Regions from separate parts of the Homo sapiens genome. Here region 2 is linked to region 1. Evidence: promoter capture Hi-C in 16 types of primary human blood cells and fetal thymus (Javierre and others, 2016). All regions are on one chromosome and are shown on one strand. Each heading gives the region's core, a stretch centred on a gene start or on the middle of the fragment in contact. The rest is flanking DNA. Distances are from core to core; before and after follow the strand shown.

Evidence for each region. Contacts are between HindIII fragments. The CHiCAGO score rates a contact against its expected background, and 5 or more counts as called.
Region 2: a contact is called between a fragment that was not itself captured here and the fragment with the promoter of MRPL17 in region 1, in 3 of 17 cell types (non-activated CD4 T cells, total CD4 T cells and total CD8 T cells). The highest score is 5.5, in non-activated CD4 T cells.

The regions. Positions count from the first base shown.
Region 1 is chr11:6,682,090-6,684,770 of GRCh38, forward strand. It overlaps MRPL17 (mitochondrial ribosomal protein L17), which reads right to left and starts at 1,251. Exons shown (of 3, transcript NM_022061.4): 1 at 1,034-1,251; 2 at 658-726; 3 at 1-313. The coding sequence starts at 1,207. The coding sequence ends at 29. RefSeq lists enhancers at 793-1,555, 972-1,411. The HindIII fragment of the contact is 17,410 bases long and covers 1-2,681 here.
Region 2 is chr11:6,571,630-6,574,310 of GRCh38, forward strand. It overlaps DNHD1 (dynein heavy chain domain 1), which reads left to right. Exons shown (of 43, transcript NM_144666.3): 43 at 7-391. The coding sequence ends at 357. Among named protein-coding and RNA genes, the nearest start is that of RRP8, 31 kb to the right of the region's middle. The HindIII fragment of the contact is 538 bases long and covers 1,085-1,622 here.

The sequences.
Region 1 (2,681 bases), core at 1-2,500:
TTAAGGGCTGCAGACTCTTCAGATCCAGTTAAATCCCTGGTGTTTGAGCTGTGTGGGAGCTGTGGTTGCTTGCTTCCTGGCTTTGCCTGAGGTCCTGCCGCAAACCCTGCAGCAGCTGGTTTAGGAGTGTAAGGTGGCTGTCTCTGCGAGGCAGAGGCAGGGGTGGGAGGCAATTCCCTTTATACTCGATCACTGCCATCTTGGCCCGATCCAAACTCCGATTTGGGATCTGCAGCATTCTTGTGTAGCCCCCAGTTTGATCTTTGTACCGAGGGGCCAGTACTTGAAACAGCTTTGGGATCAAATCCTTCTCCTAGAGGGAGAATTATCCAAGAGACAGCAGAGTCAGGCAAAACTGCAGAGGCATTTAACTTTACACCATTCCCAAAGGTAAGGTCCATCCACACATAGAAAGACCTCCCCCTCCCCTCGCCAATCTGGCATAGTCAGTGTTACACAAAGGGGTCGTTTATAGGCAGTTGTGCAGAGGTATATTCACATCGACTTCAACTAACTTAAGACACAGTTTCTAATTTAGTTAGCAGCACTGGCCCATAAGTGAGTACCCAAGTTTAATTCTGCATAGTTCTCCTTTTTCCAACCCCCACCCCCAGGGAGCAAAGGGTGGGATTTTGAAGGCAGATAGGTCGCACTCACTGTGAGCCAGAAGTCAGCCATGCGCATGGCTCGTTCGTTAGTGTCTCCCAGCTTCCCATAGTCGATGAGCTGTGAGGACATAACATCACGGATCCAACCGAGCAAGAAAACAAGGTGCCAATCTAATTTCTCTAATGCCGGAAGGCAATCCATTCTTTCCACTAGCCAAGCATCTCCAATCTACGCCACCCCTAACTCCGCAGCCCTAACCAGTCTTCCATTAGAGGCGATGGAGGGGCGGGTTCAGCCCAAGGTTCTGGGGGACTCAGACTTGGGGAATGGTTTACCAGGTTGGTCCCGGTCCCTTTCCACTTGCAGCCGGCTCCGCCCCCTCAGACCAGACCCGCAGAGTGGACAAGAGGGCCGCGCTCCTCACCTTCTCCGCGTAGCCCCTCATTTCGTCCACACGCGCCCATGGTGCCTCGATGCGTTCGTGCCGCACCAGCCCTGTGAGCAAGTTCCGCAACAGATGGATGCGGGACTCGGGACCGAGGCCCATACGGCGAAATACGCGGCCATGGGAGATCGCTGCAGCGACCGACAGCCGCATGTTTCCAACTTCTGCCCGCCCCTTGGAGGCCGGAACTGGAAACTGGAAGGTAGAGCCGGTGGCGGCAATTTCAGGGAACGCATGCGCCTTAGCTCGGAGCGTGGTGAACGTGTTTGCGCATGCGCATCAGAGCCTGCCTCGTTGGCAATCTCGGGAAGGGCGGAGAAACGGTGTTGAGCTTTTCCAGAGGCGGCGAGCTGGGCGGGCTTCAGGCATCCAGAGCGCTCTGTGGCGGCCGAAGAACCAGGCGCCCCCTAGTGTGGGATAAGCGGGCCATCGGGTTTTTTTTGGGGCTGCGTCAGCCAGTGGCATTTAGGGCGATGGGGCGCTCCGCCGCGGAGACTCCTGGGAAAGAGAGCGTCTGAAGAGAAAGGCACCCGGAGGGTTCGGGGTCCTGCGGGCTGACGGCCCTACCGGGTCCAGCAGTGGCCAGCTGGCCTGGTTGACACCTGTACGCATTGTTTTTAACACAGTGATTTTCAGTAGTAATGGTGAGATGGATAATAACGATGCCCGGAAAAGAAACGCAGATAGTGAAATTTTTCTTTTATTGAAGTAATCACTCCAGTTAAAAAAATTACAGCACTAAAGGGAAAAGTAGTAGATTGTTTTTAATTACACCAGTGTGTCTTTTTAAGGGGAAAAAACATACCTACACATTTATGTGTTAATGAACAATAATATTATAGTTTGTTTTTGAGCCTTAACATCTGCAAATTGGCAATGACTGTCAAAATTATTCCTTGTTATGGGTTGAATTGTGTCTTCCCCATGATTCTTCCCGTCCCCAAAAAGCTATGTTAAGTCCTAACCTGCAGTAACTCAGAATGTGACCTTATGTGGAAATAGGGTCATTGCAGATGTCATTTGTTAAGATGAAGTCATGCAGGCATAGGTGGGCGCCTAATCCAAAATGCCTAGTGTCTAGCTAGCTAGATAGATAGACACATATATACGTACATACATATATGCAGGCCGGGCACGGTGGCTCACTCCTGTAATTCCAGCACTTTGGGAGGCCGAGGCGGGCGGATCACCTGAGGTCAGGAATTCGAGACCAGCCTGGCCAACATGGCGAAACCCCGTCTCTACTAAAAACACAAAAATTAGCCGGGCGTGGTGGCTCATGCCTGTAATTCTAGCTACTCGGGAGGCTGAGGCAGGAGAATAGCTTGAACCCGGGAGGTGGAGGTTGCAGTGAGCTGAGATCGGGCACTGCACTCTAGACTGGGCGACAGAGTGAGGCTCTATCTCAAAAAAAAAAAAAAAAAAAATGCGCATGAAGAGAGAGAGATGGACACAGGGTGATGCTGACCAGGTAAAGACAGAGACATACAGGCAGAAAGCCATGTGACCTTGAAAGCAGAGATTATGGAGTCAAGCAGTTGCAAATCAATGAATGAACACCAAGGATTGCTGGAGCACACCTGAAGCCAAGGGAAAGGTATAAAACGCATTCTTTTTCAGATCTGTC
Region 2 (2,681 bases), core at 104-2,603, 110 kb before region 1:
CCCCAGGTGGAGAATGGTCCAAATCCCACGGTTCCAGAGAGAGGGCTGCTGCTGATCGGGCTACAGGTCCTACATGCGGAGTGGGACCCAATAGCTGGAGCCTTGCAGGACAGTCCTTCCAGCCAACCCAGCCCTCTGCCTCCCGTCAGCATCAGCACACAGGCCCCGGGCACCAGTGACCTGCCAGCCCCAGCCGACCTGACTGTGTACTCGTGTCCTGTGTACATGGGAGGGCCCCTTGGCACCGCTAAGCTGCAGAGCAGGAACATCGTGATGCATCTGCCTTTACCCACCAAGCTCACCCCCAACACCTGTGTCCAAAGGAGGGTCCATGTGTGCAGCCCACCCCTGTCTTGAGCCCGTCTACCAAAATAAAGTTGTAGTGATTCCATGAAAGATTTCTGAGATATGGGGGTAGAGTAGGGTGTGTGCACACCAAGAAGGCAGAATGTGACACACTAGGAGAAAGGTACAGTGTGCATAACTGAGAAAAGAGGAGGTATATTCACACCGAAGGTAGAAGAGGGCATGTGCCTGGCAGCCGGGAAGGGGAAAGTGTGGGTACAGTTGGGGTGGGGTGGGACTTGGTGTTAATCATGTATCCAAGAAGCTAGGCAGACCCAGCAGTGGCTGACACACAGAATCCTAAATCCTTGCCCCGCTCTCTACTGTGGTCTCAGCACTTGTGCTAAATCCACAAGGGATATGTTTGAAAGGAGAACATTAGCACTCAAAATTCTTTCTTAAGGCATTTAGTGGTGTTCTTGGCAGTGCCTCAATCCTGCCCTACCACTCATTCCTCTCCTACGATGGATTCTCTCAGTGAGTCATGCATATGAAAAAAGCCAAGTAAGATACAAGGTCCTATGTTCATTCAACAATTATTCATTGAGCATTCCTTGGAACCAGGTATTCTTCTATGTGCTAATAAGGTTATTCTAGTGTAGGGCAACAGGCAATAAAAGGCCAACATATAAATAATTTTGATGATTTTGAAGTCCTATAAAGAAAACAAAATAGACCGATGCGTCAAGAGGGTATGTGATGAGACGGGAGCAGTTAGTATAATCTGAGTGGTCAAGGAAGCTTTCTGCATATTTGAAAGTAGCTATTTAAAGATCTAGAAGGAATATTCATTCAGGTAGAGCCCTCAGTAGGTACAAAAGTCTTGAGGCAGGAACAACCTTGAAGTGTTCAAGAAACAGCGTATGCAGCCAGAGCATGGCGAGTGAGGGGCAGAGCGACCCAAAATGATGGGAACGTATAGAAAGGGGTGGCTCACGTGGCCGTGGTAATGATCTTGTATTTTTCAAAAGTATAATGAGAATGTATTGTCAAATAGTAGGTGGGAGAGTATATGATCTAATTTGCATTTTTTCAAAGGTCACTCTGCCTGTTCTATGGTGGATGGATGCTAGAAAAGCCAGGGTGACAAGGTAGAAGATCTATTTGGACCCAACTGAAGTAATTCAAGTAAGGGATAATGGAGTTTGGGCAAGGGTTTAAATAGAGATGAAGAACTGACAGATTTAAGAACTATTCTGGAGGTAAAACCAGCAGGACTGATGGAATGGATGTGGAGAATAAAGGAAGAGGAAGAATCTAGGGTGATTTGGATTTTAAGCTTGAGAAACTAGGTGTATCATGTGTCATTAACTGAGATGGGAAATTTGAGGGAGCAAGCAGCTGGAGCTAAGGAATCAAGAGTTCTGCTGCTTTGATATTTTCTGTTATTATTAGTTGCATGACTGCCTGCTAGGCCAGGGCGAGCCTGTCCGACAAAAGTTGAGTTAGAGTATGGCAGAACCAAAGGCCTATATGAGCTTCACTCCTTGCCCCCAAGCATCAAAACTTACGTAGTATTAATAAACTCAGCTCCCTTGCTCTATGGCTAGGTACCAGCTACGTGGTGGGAGGAAATGCAAACAGAAGTGTATACAGGCATACTTGAAGCTATTGTGGGTTTGGTTCCAGACCACCACAATAAGGCGAATATTGCAAGTCACATGAACTTTTTGGTTTCCCACTGCATATGGGTTACATTTACACTATATTGTAGTCTATTAAGCATGAAATAGCATTATGTTAAGTTAAAAAAAAAAACAAGGTATACCAGCCTGGCCAACATGGTGAAACCCTGTCTCTACTAAAAATACAAAAATTAGCGAGGTGTGGTGACGGGCACCTGTAATCCAAGCTACTCAGGAGACTGAGGCAGCAGAAGAATCTCTTGAACCCAGGAGGTGGAGGTTGCAGCGAGCCGAGATTGTGCCACTGTACTCCAGCCTGGGTGACAGAGCAAGACCCTGTCTAAAAAAAAAAAAAAAAAAAAAATTGCATACCTTAGTTTAAAAATACTTTATTGCTAAAAATGCTAATAATCATCTGAGCCTTCAGCAAATAGTAATCTTTTTGCTAGTAATCTTTTTTGCCTTAATATTGATAGCTGCTGATCAGGGTGGTGACTGCTGAAGGTTGTGGCAATTTCTTAAAATAAAACAACAGTGAATACGAGTCCATATCAATGGACTCATATTTTCATGAAGAATTTGTCTGTGGCATGTGATGGTGTTTTACAGCATTTTACCTACAGAACTTATTTCAAAATTGGAGTTAATCCTCTCAAACCCTGCTGTTCCTTTATTAACTAAGTTTATGTAATATTCTAAATCATTTGTTGT